2 separate regions of the Homo sapiens genome follow, and region 2 is linked to region 1. The links are contacts of gene promoters, found by promoter capture Hi-C in human tissues and cell types (Jung and others, 2019). All regions are on one chromosome and are shown on one strand. Each heading gives the region's core, a stretch centred on a gene start or on the middle of the fragment in contact. The rest is flanking DNA. Distances are from core to core; before and after follow the strand shown.

The links. The method cuts DNA at HindIII sites, captures the fragments that hold promoters and counts their contacts. A contact is called where the count stands out against the background at its distance.
Region 2: a fragment that was not itself captured here is called in contact with the fragment with the promoter of APPBP2 in region 1 in 1 of the 25 tissues and cell types used here (hippocampus).

The regions. Positions count from the first base shown.
Region 1 is chr17:60,523,173-60,529,444 of GRCh38, reverse strand. APPBP2 (amyloid beta precursor protein binding protein 2) reads left to right here and starts at 3,203. Exons shown (of 13, transcript NM_006380.5): 1 at 3,203-3,651. The coding sequence starts at 3,514. RefSeq lists a silencer at 3,374-3,513 and enhancers at 3,594-3,863, 3,584-4,292. The HindIII fragment of the contact is 9,879 bases long and covers 1-4,025 here.
Region 2 is chr17:60,663,005-60,668,817 of GRCh38, reverse strand. PPM1D (protein phosphatase, Mg2+/Mn2+ dependent 1D) reads right to left here. Exons shown (of 6, transcript NM_003620.4): 6 at 2,538-5,813. The coding sequence ends at 5,266. Among named protein-coding and RNA genes, the nearest start is that of BCAS3, 12 kb to the left of the region's middle. The HindIII fragment of the contact is 6,894 bases long and covers 376-5,813 here.

The DNA of each region.
Region 1 (6,272 bases), core at 1,954-4,453:
AGGCCCTGGGGCTCTACAATTAGCAGATGGCAAAGCCATCCAGGCGTGTGTCCTTCCCTTCAGGGTGGCGAGTTCCCCCAGGCCCTGGGTAGGTCCAGATGTACAGTCCAGGAGTCAGAGACTAGAGTAAAAAATCTCAGAAGTCTACCTGGTGTTATACTGTATTGCAGCTGAGCTGGCTCTCAAACCGTAAGACACAGTCCTTCCTACTCTTCCCTTTCCTTCCCAAAGGGAGACTAGCCTCACTCTGTAACCACCATCACCACAGGCCACAGGGAGTACTGCCAGACTTCCACGGATGTTTCCTTAAGGCCCACGGCCTCTCAAGTCAGTGTGTGGTGAATGCTGTCTGGGCAGAGACTCAACCGTCAGGGCAGAAGGCTCTACTCTGGACCAGGGCAGGTCAGAAATGCCATTTAGGAGTCAAGTCCTGGAATCAGGAACCCCAAGGGCCCACTTGGTGCTCTACCCCTCTGTGGCCATGCTGGCATCTGAAGCCAGCAAGTCTCAGAGGTTCACCCAAGGTCCTCAACATAGTATCTGGGTATATCTGCTGGTCATTTAGGGCCCAAGGGCTCTTCAGTTAGAAGGTGATGAATACTGCCAGGACTAAGTCCTTCTCAGGGGACTTATCCTTTCTGGCAGTTTATCTGCTCTTGGTCACGACCTCCTAGTCCATCATACACATCTGAATAACTTTCAATCTGAAAGCAGTGAAGAAGGGATCAAGAGGCCCTTCCATCCAGAGTCCCCTTTGTGACTATATACATTTTTTAATGTCTAACTCAGTCATATGGTTTTGCTCTGTGTCCCCACCCAAATCTCATCTTGAATTGTACTCTGATAATTCCCACGTGTTGTGGGAGGGACCCAGTGGGAGATCACTGAATCATGGGGGTGGTTTCTCCCACGCTGTTCTTGTGGTAGTCTCATGAGATCTGATGGTTTTATAAGGAGAAACTCCTTTCGGTTGTCTCTTTTTGCCTGCTGCCATCCACATTAAGATGTGACTTGCTCCTCCTTGCCTTCCACCATGATTGTGAGGCCTCCTCAGCCATGTGGAACTGTAAACCCAATAAACCTCTTTCTTTTATAAATTGCCCAGTCTCAGCTATGTCTTTATTAGCAGTGTGTAAACGGACTAATACACTCAGCATCTAAGGTCCATAAAGCAATCAATATGTGTGTCTGACACACCTTTACCTGTTTACAGGAGCTTAATACGGGTCCTGATTTAGCCAAAATGTCCAAGAACATGTGCATTCAATGTTAGGGGATTCATGGATCCCTTTAGGTAGGATTGCTGGATAAAATACAGGTGTCCAGTTAAATGTGAGTTTCAGATGAACAACAAAGTTTTTTGTTGTTGTTGTTTTCTGAGACAGGGTCTCATTCTGCCACCCAGGCTGGAGTGCAGTGGCATGATCATGGCTCACTCAACATTCTGGGCTCAAGTAATCCTCCTGCCTCAGCCTCCTGAGTAGCTAGGACTACAGGTGCACACCACCACATGTGGCTATTTTTTTTTTGTAGAGATGGGGTCTTGCTATGTTGCCCAGGCTGGTCACAAATAAGTTTTTAGTATAAATATGTCCCCTGCAATATTTGCAGAGATAATAATTATTCTTTTATGTGGGGCAGGGATCCTGATCTTCAAAAGCGCCAGTGTCTAAGAAGTGATGAAGGATTTGCTGAATGAACTGATACACTTGAGTGGCTCCGAAGGCATGAGCAAAACTATTGCACAGAACATACTTACATTTCAAAACCATTTGTTGTTTATCTGACATTAAGATGTGACTGGGCACTTGTAATTTTTTTTTTCTTTTTTTTGAGACGGAGTCTCGCTCTGTTGCCCAGGCTGGAGTGCAGTGGCGCGATCCTGGCTCACTGCAAGCTCCGCCTCCCGGGTTCACGCCATTCTCCTGCCTCAGCCTCCCGAGTAGCTGGGACTACAGGCGCCCGCCACCACGGGCTAATTTTTTGTATTTTTAGTAAAGACGGGGTTTCACCGTGTTAGCCAGGATGGTCTCGATCTCCTGACCTCGTGATCCACCCGCCTCGGCCTCCCAAGTGCTGAGATTACAGGTGTGAGCCACCGCGCCCAGCCTTGTAGTTTTTTACTTGCTAAACTGGCAATCTGATCTTGAGGCCATCCACAGCTTTCCTAGGTTCACAGTATAGAGTAAGAATTTATATAGACTGAAGAAGATTAAGAGTGTTTATTTTTTGTGGAATTATTTAACCACTTAACACTGAAGTACCAGGTGAAGGGTAAATTGAAATAACTCTTTCCACTTCTTTTAGCTCTAAATATCAATCAGGACATTATTATTATGGCTGTTTTCTGGACTTACATCGTTATAGAGTGACTATGAGTTTGATAGTGTCACCAACAATTATGGCCAATAATTTCCATGGTAAATTCCTAGAACAGAAAGATGTTGCATCAAATTCTTGAAATCGCAGACTTAGGAAATTAAGTTACATAAACAGCAGATGTTCAGGCTGAGGAAGGAAAGAAGCTGAAACAAGTACTCCCAATTATTCAACAATCCCTTGAAGCCGCCACTGTAACTCTGGGAATTGAAATACCATTAAGTCCTATCACGGCCACCACTTAGCCTTTTTTCTCTTACTATTATTTGTAATTCCATAATCAAGCTAGTTTTCCTACGAAGTTCTGGGGCAGGAGTTTTCTTTTTTCGGAAATTTCATTTGGATAAAGAAACATGGTCAAAAAGTTACAACGGTGCAAATGGTTATACAAAGAAAAACAAGTCTCTCTTCTATCGTTACCCCTAGTTCCTGGACCGCGGGTTCTTAACTTGGGTTAGGAACTGCAGTCTAAGGGTTTCTAGAGTAATGTGAATTTTCTCAATGCATAATTTTCAATGTACAGATAATTTTGCTCGTTTGTGGGGAGAGGATCCAAACTTTTACCTGAGCCTCAAAAGGGTCCGTGATGCAGAGAACCTGCTGAAGTAACCGATGGCCCCGAGTGACTCGGAACAGGGGGCGCAGATATCCTGTAATAATTTGTCCCCGTGTGAAAAGTCTACCCCTATCCACTCCACTCCACTCCACTCCGGGGCCGCTTGGAAGGGACGCTCTCCGTGGGAGGCATCCAGCTCTTCCTAAGTTTTCCGCCTGCCGCATTCCTCCCCTCCGGCGCGCCGGCGTGCGCTTACGTCATGACGCCGCACACGCAGCCCCGCCCCTGCAGAGATCAGCGCTGGGACGGAACCCGGGTTCCTCTCGAACCGGGATTGTGACGCTTTTGGCCTGGCTGGCCGCTGTTTTCTGTCCCACTTTTTACTCGGGCCTGCGTCCGCTGCCGCCGTCCCTCAGTTTGCCCCCGGAGGAGGCAGGGCGGCCGTGCCTTCTGCCGTGCGCCCGCGTGGCTGCCACCGCCCCTCCGAATCCTCCGGGGCCGCAGAGGGGTTCGCTACGGAGGGAGGTGGGGGCCTTCGGGAGGAGGAGGCGGAGGAGGCGGAGGAGGAGGGAAGGAAGATGGCGGCCGTGGAACTAGAGTGGATCCCAGAGACTCTCTATAACACCGCCATCTCCGCTGTCGTGGACAACTACATCCGCTCCCGCCGAGACATCCGCTCCTTGCCCGAGAACATCCAGTTTGATGTTTACTACAAGGTATGCGCCGTGGGCCTCCTCTCTGCTCTCCTCCAGCAACCCCGGGGGCCGCACCCCCTTCCACGTCTGCGAACCCCCGCAGTTAACCCCTCACCCCTTCCGGCAGACTTGCCTCCCGAAACGTCTGGTGCGGTGTCTGCATTGCCAGTGGAGAAGCACCCCATCTCCCTATGCCCTGTCTCTTAAGCTTTGGGGCCTTGAAGTAATCTTGGGGAGTCTTGCTCCCTGTTGGTGTTCCCTTCTACACAGTGGCCCTCTTGGGTAGGCCTTTTGCGTGGACTTACTCTATCGCGCCCCTGTCCCACCTAGTCCTTTCCTTCTAGCCCGTATCTTCAGGATATTTTCCATCCTCTCCTTCCAATTAAGTGTCAGCATCAGCTGGACTTTTTTCCGTGCTCCTCCCCCCACCCATTCCTACTTTCTCATCTCGCCGCCTTCCTTCCCCGAGTGTTTTGGTGTTTTTGCTTCGTGTTCCTTCGTTTCTCCTTTCTTTTCCCAATTGGGAAGGAGTTAGGGATTATTGGAAATAATCTGTGTGTTTTATTTGCATATTCTTTAAAGCTTTGATTTTTTTGTGGGAGAGGAGGGGCTCTATACTTGAATTAGGGATTTTGTGAAAATGGGAGTGCTGATCAACTGTTTGAAGAGGACAGGGAGAGATCTTTACTGAAAGAAAAAAACACTTTAGATTATGTTCCTGTGTTTGAAAGTTGCAATCTTGCAGCATTCTTAAATCACTCCCCCTCAAAAATCTGAACAGCAAGTCTCCCAAGCCACTCTCCAAGGAGTTTCAAGGGTAAGTGTCCTTAGATGTGGACTATTTTTGCAGTGTTTTCAGAGTGTGGAGAACTTTATGGACTCAGAGCCTGCCCTTTTCTCTCCCCCACATTTGAATGTGAACACTGGATTTATTATTCAGTCTTCCTTGTCTTGAATCCGCGTCGATAACTCCTAGTGTCCAGTAGCCACCCATGCAAAATGTGACTAAAAGTAGAATGTAATTTATTTTTTAGACCTTAAATACTTCCTCTTGATCTGTAAGTTGGCTGGAACAGTGTAAACTGATATTTTAACAGATGTTTATGTTCTTACGTATGTACAGTGTTTTGTGGCAGTTGTTTTATTGGGAAGATTGCCTGCTTTCTCCACCCCTAGATTTTTTTTTTTTTTTTTTTTTTTTTTTCAGAATTAGCAGTTGATGGGCTGCGTTCTACTAAATCCAGCTGCTTTGCACCAATTCTAACAATTAAAGTGGGGTTTCCCCCCTAAATATTTGGAGAAGATTCATTTAGGTCATGCGTATTATTATTTTGGATTTCGAGAAAAAGCTCCCTTTTTTCCTAATCCCTTTGATACATTGATTTACTTTTGTGTATTCTAAGGAAATTTTGTTCATTTAAGATACATTCCTCCCCAGGAAGGACAAATTAGATTTGTCTTTCTCAGCCTGGGAAACTGCAGCTTTGTGTGTGCTCTCTGTCCATTTTATTAAATCATGTGTAATCTTGTACCTCATATGTAATCTCTCAGAGGAAATCATTGGGAATGTAATCCAAGTGTATTTACTAGTTGAATTCGTTCAAAATACTTGAATATCTTTTAGTAACTTTCACTTCTAATTGAAGCTTTTCATTTGAAGATTATTAGTATGAATAGATGGTGCTTTTGTTAGAATTTCTGTTTCACATAGTTCACACAGTTTTAATATTGCTCCTTTTTGGTACACTTTTACTTCTTAATAGTTGTATGCTTATTGGGAGTATGGCACTGTGCTAAGATGAGGGAAGTGTTAAACATGTGCCTGTAACTATGTTGTGCTTTTATGTGTTATTTTGTTTAATCTTCAGAATTAAACTGTGAAGTAGAGTACAGTATAACCTTGCTTTATTGGTGAGAAAGTTAAGTAATTTAATTAAGGTCTCAAACCTGATATTTAGTTCCTGAGTTCCTTGCTCTTTTACTTAGATATCTATCTTAAGATAGTAGATTATTTTAATGAAAGATATTATAACACTAATTTTTTTATTAGCTTCTATGGAAGTGGAGTGAAAGTCAGTCCCAGGACTCTATTCTAATCTTTAATGGAGATGTAAGAAGAAATTATTCTTTTTATTAAAATTTAAAAAAAATAGAGATGGGGTCTCGCTGTTTTGCCCAAGCTGGTCTTGAACTCCTGGGCTCAAGCTATCCTCCTGCCTCAGCCTACTGAGTAGCTGAGACTACAGGCATATGCCACCGCACCTGACTTTTCTTCCTTTTAAACACTATTAGCATATACATATAAGAAACTTTTTTTGTGGAGACAGGATCTTGCTCTGTTGCCCAGGCTGGAGTGCAGTTGTGATCATAGCTCACCGCAACCTTGAACCCCTGGGCTTAAGCAGTCTTTCCATCTCAGCCTCCTGAGTAGCTGGAACTACAGGTGTATGCCACCCATGCCTAGCTAATTTTTTTTTTTTTAATTTTTAGTATAGATGAGGTCTTGATATATTGCCCAGGCTGGAAAAACTTTTTAAAGCAATATAACTGCACACATAAATATAAGATACTCACCCCCTGCCCAACTTGTGAAAATTTTAGGAGGCTTACTGTTTCCAATTTCCAATTTTCTGCACTTTAAA
Region 2 (5,813 bases), core at 2,573-5,072, 140 kb before region 1:
CTGGGATTACAGGTGCGCACCATCACATACGCGCCACCATGCACAGCTAATTTTTGTATTTTTAGTAGAGATGTGTTTTCAGCATGTTGGCAGAGCTGGTCTCACACTCCTGAGCTCAGGTGATCCACCTGCCTCGGTCTTCCAAAGTGCCGGGATTACAGGCATGAGCTACCACGGCCAGCCCTCAAACCTTAGTTTTATCAACTGTTTTAAAAAATACACAAGGTGGTCAGGCATGGTGGCGCATGCCTGTAATCCAGCATTTTGGGAGGCCAAGGTGGGTGTGTCACCTGAGGTCAGGAGTTTGAGACCAGCCTGGCCAACATGGTGAAACCCCGTTTCTACTAAAAATACAAAAATTAGCCGGGCATGGTGGTGCGCACCTGTAGTCCCAGCTACTCAGGAGGCTGAGGCAGGAGAATCACTTGAACCCAGGAAGTGGAGGTTGCAGTGAGCCGAGATTGAGCCACTGCACTGCAGCTTGGGCGTGACAGAGCAAGACTCTGTCTCAAAAAAATGAAAATGCCGCTTCCTCTGGTCTTCATGTTTGTTTTTTTTCTTCCTTTTTTTTTGAGACGGAGTCTTGCTTTGTCTTGGCTCACTACAACCTCCACCTCCTGGGTTCATGCAATTCTCCTGCCTCAACCTCCCAAGTAGCTGGGATTACAGGCATACGCCATCATGCCTGGCTAATTTTTTTACTTTTAGTAGAGATGGGGTTTGACCGTGTTGGCCAGGCTGGTCTCAAACTCCTGACTTCAAGTGATCCACCCACCTCGGCCTCCCAAAGTGCTGGGATTACAGGTGGAGCTACCATGCCCGGCCCTATCATGGTTTCTGAAGAGAAATATGCAGTCATTTAAATTAGTCCTGTGTATGTCAGTATGCATTATATTTTCCCTCTGGTGGCTTTCAAGATTGTTTTTCTCTTTAGTTTTTAGCAATTTGGTTATGTCAGGATTTCTTAATGTTTTCTGTTTGGGGATTTGCTGAGCTTGAATTTGTAGGTTTATGACTCATTAGACTTAGGATGTTTTAAAGCCATCTTTAATTATTATTATTATTATTATTATTATTATTATATTATTATTATTATTATTAGAGTCAGGGTCTTACTCTGTTGCGAAGGCTGGAGTGCAGTGGCCCGATCTCGGCTCAATTCAACCTCCGCCTCCCGAGTTCAAGTGACTCTTCTGCCTCGGCCTCCTGAGTAGCTGGACTACAGGCATCCACCACCATGCCTGGCTAATTTTTGTATTTTTAGTAGAGACAGGGTTTCACCATGTTGGCCAGAATGGTCTCAAACTCCTAACCTTAAGTGATCCACCCACCTTAGCCTCTCAAAGTGCTGGGAATACAGGCATATTCCGTGCCCAGCCTAGATTTTTTTTTTAGCACCACATTCTTCTCTGTTTCCATTTGTTTTTGTTTTTTTGTTTTTGTTTTTGCAACGAAGTCTCACTTTGTCACCTAGGCTGGAGTGCAGTGGTACATTCTCAGCTCACTGCAACCTCTGCCTCCCAGGTTCAAGCAATTCTCCTGCCTTAGCCTCCCAAGTAGCTGGGATTACAGGTGTGTGCCACCGCGCCCAGCTAATTTTTGTATGTTTAGTAGAGATGGGGTTTCACCATGTTGGCCAGGCTGGTCTCAAACTCCTGACCTCAGGTGATCCCCCCACCTCAGCCTCCCAAAGAGCTGGGATTACAGGCATGAGCCACCGCACCCGACCTGTTTTCATTTTGTTATTTTGTGTTTTGTGTAAGAGACAGGGCCTAACTATGCTGTCCAGGCTGGAGTCCAATAGCTATTCACAGGTGTGATCATCGCACACTATAGCCTGGAACTCTTGGGCTCAAGCAATCCTCCCACCGCAGCTTCCTGAGTAGCTAGGACTACAGGAATGCACCACCATACCCAGCTTGCTTTCTTTTAACTTTTTTTCCTTTTGCTAAAACTTTTGTTACTTTTATTATTTATTTTTGAGGCAGTGTCTCACTCTGTTGCCCAGGCTGGTGTGCAGTGGTGTGATCACGGCTCACTGAAGCCTCAACCCCCTGGGCCCAAGTGATCCTCCTACCTCAGACTCCAGAGTAGCTGGGACTACAGGCACATGCCACCACACCTGGCTAGTAACGTTCCTACATTCCACTTTTAGTCATAGAACATTGATTCTAAGTAGTCTATAAGTGTATGTACATTGTAATCCCTAATGCAACCACTAATACTGCCTAAATATTTTGTCTCTAAGATTAAAATTTGCCTAGCACTTTGGGAGGCCGAGGCAGGAGGATCACTTGAGGCCAGGAATTTAAGACCAGCCTGAGCAACACAGTGAGACCTTGTCTCTAAGGAAATTTTTAAAATCCACCAGGTGTGGTGATATGCACCTGTAGTCCCAGCTACTCAGGAAGCTGAGATGGGAGGATCACTTGAACCCAGGAGTTAAAGGTTACAGTGACCTATGATTTTGCCACTGCACTCCACATCAGCCTGGGGACAGTGAGACCCTGTTAAAAAAAAAAAAAATTATTCTCAACTTTGTTAGTGAGATAGTTTATTTAGGGACAAAATACATTAAGATGTTTTACTCCACTAGAGCAATCTTCCAGATGTCTGGAAGATGAAAATAACATTGTTCATTAATGCTATTACCAAAACATAACTATTGCACACCCTACTAAAACAATGTTATACACGCTGTATTTCAGAATATCAATGCTTTTAACTTCCAGGTTGTGACAGCCTCCTTCCAGATGACACTTAAAAATGCCCACCTCCTAGAATTCATGCCTTGTGTAGGAGTCTCCCACGTTGTAGTTGACTTGGTCTGTGTGACCAACAAAATACAGAATTGGTATGACACTTTCAGAGGCTAGGTTACAAAAAACATCATGGCTTCTTCCTTGCCCTCCGGTGTTGCTTGCTCTGGGGACAAATAACTGCCATGTTGTGAGAGGCCCTCTGGAGGGGAACATGTGGCAACAAACTGAGGTCTCCTGCCAACAGCTGTGAGTCTTGCGGGAAGCAGATCTTCTAGCCCCAATGACACCTTCGAAAGATTGTAGCCCTGGTTGGTAGCTTGACCAAAACCACGAGACTATCACCCAGCTAAACCACTCTCAGATTTCTGAGGCTCAGAAACTGGAGATAATATTTGTTGTTTTAAACTGCTAAATTTCGAGATATTGTTTTGTAGCAATGAATACATATTTTAATCCTTGTGGCATAAGACACACCGATCAAGAATTATCTTCTGCAAAATATTGAAAATAACCAGAATGTGTGGACATGGTTAAATAATGGCATAGTTGGCTGGGCACGGTGGCTCACACCTGTAATCCCAGCACTTTGGGAGGCCTAGGCTGGTGGATCATGAGGTCAAGAGATCAAGACCATCTTGGCCAACATGATGAAAACCCATCTCTACTAAAAATACAAAACTTAGCCAGGCATGGTGGCACGCACCTGTAGTTCCAGCTACTCAGGAGGCTGAGACATGAAAATCACTTGAACTGAAATGTAAGAAATACATTGAAAGCATAAAACTCAGGCCGGATGCGGTGGCTCACGCCTGTAATCCCAGTACTTTGGGAGGTCGAGGCGGGTGGATCACGAGGTCAGGAGATCAAGACCAGCATGACTGACATGTGAAACCCCATCTCTACTAAAAATACAAAAATTGGCTGGGCACAGTGGCGCGTGCCTGTAATCTCAGCTACTCAGGAGGCTGAGGCAGGAGAATCGCAGGAACCCAGAAGGCAGAGGTTGCAGGGAGCCGAGATCACACCACTGCACTCCAGCCTGGATGACAGAGCTAGACTCCATCTCAAAAAAAAAAAAAAAAATTAGCCGGGTGTGGTGGCACACACCTGTAATCCCAGCTTCTGGGGAGAGAGATTGAGGCAGGAGAATCACTTGAACCCGGGAGGCAGAGGTTGCAGTCAGCCGAGATCACGCCACTGCACTCTAGCCTGGATGACAGAGTGAGACTCCATCTCAAACAAACAAACAAAATAATAAATAAATAAAATACACTCACTGTAAAGCATGATCATGGCACAACAGAATGTTAATCCAGGTTAAGCATCCCTAATCTGAAAATCCAAAATCCAAAATGCTCCAGAATCAGAAACTTTTTCAGAGCAGGCATGATGCTCAAAGGAAATGCTCATTAGAGCATTTTGAATTTCAGATTGGGAACACTCAAAAGCTCAGTATAAAGCAAATATTCCAAAATTTTAAAAAATCTGAAACACTTCTGGTCCCAAGCATTTTGGATAAGGGATACTCAACTTGTACATACCATTAAAATAAACCAACAACTACAAATTCAGCAACATGAGGAACAGTTCACTGATTTATTAGATGAATATATACCCATATAATCAATGAAAACTGTATGATATAAAATAATTTAAGAAATGTTGGGAATTAGCAGCACCATCTGTTATTGAAATAGCAAGGAAAACTTCACATATTTTAAGCAAACACGAGAAGGGAGTAACTACTTTAAGACCTAATAATGCCATTGGTCTGGGATGAAAAAGAAGGGAATTGTTTTAGATTGTTTTAGGCAAACACACTTCCTTCTATGCTGAAGATTTAGTAAGCATATCTGATGACTAAGGTTTTAGAAAAATGCTACTGATGTAAGAGATACTGCATAGTATTTTAATTGGGACAAGACTAACTGTAGCATGGCTCAACACTTCTATGAAAAATTTAGTTCTGAATTATGAAATCAGAAATAAAAAATAATGTTTAAAAGACACTTGGCTCTAAGAAACATTAAGTGAAACACAGGTCACTATGAAAATACATCACTTTTCCAGTCTGCTTAATAATTTACTTTAAAAAGTTGCACAGTTTTCAAGACAAGTGGCTTATACAAATTTTTTAATAAGTATTTTAAAAAGTTTAAATGTTTTTCTAAAATCTAATAGATTCTTTTGATTTCTTTAAACATTTAGCCCTATTGTCACAATTACTGTGTATCAGAGACTCTGAATACTGTGTATTCAGAGACTGAATTTGTGTGGATACAAATTTACACAAATTTTACAGCAACTTATACCCTAACATCTACAAAATCCACATTTACAATACAAGCAAGTACAAGGCCAGGATAAAACTGCTGAATTCCAAAAAGTCAAACTGTATATTTCTTTTAATTTTCTCCCCTTAAAAAAAGTTCAACATCGGCACCAAATTTAAAAAGCCCTCTTATATCCTAAGTTTGGAAAAACCTCATTTCCCAGATGCATTTCAGCAAACACAAACAGTTTTCCTGTGTTGATGAAGTAAAGGATTTCCAATTTTCTTCTGGCCCCTAAGTCTGCGTCGCATGGTGAGTTTAACAGAGTTCTTTCGCTGTGAGGTTGTGGGGAGACTTGCAGGCTGAGCACCACTACTTCGACTTAAGCCATTTCGTCTATGCTTCTTCATCAGGGGGCCAGAATTGGACTCTTCTAATGTCCTTTTAAAGTTTGTTGGAGGGGTTCTTTCAATTTCTTGGGCTTTCATTTGGCCAGGAGTTGACATCTTCAAATTTTTTTGGTCCATGACAGTGTTTGTTGAATTAGTAGGCACAAGGCCAATTGGAAGGCTATTATTCAAAGAATCATGTATCCTTAAAGTCAGGGCTTTAGCGCAATTTTCTTCAAGTGGTTCTGGATCTTTTGAGGGTATGACTACACCTTGGACATTCTCTCGAGCTATCTCAGCTGAAACCTCTAAAAAATTCTCTGAGAAGGCATTGCTACGAACCAGGGCAGGTATATGGTCCTTAGAATTCACCCTTGGCCATGGATCCT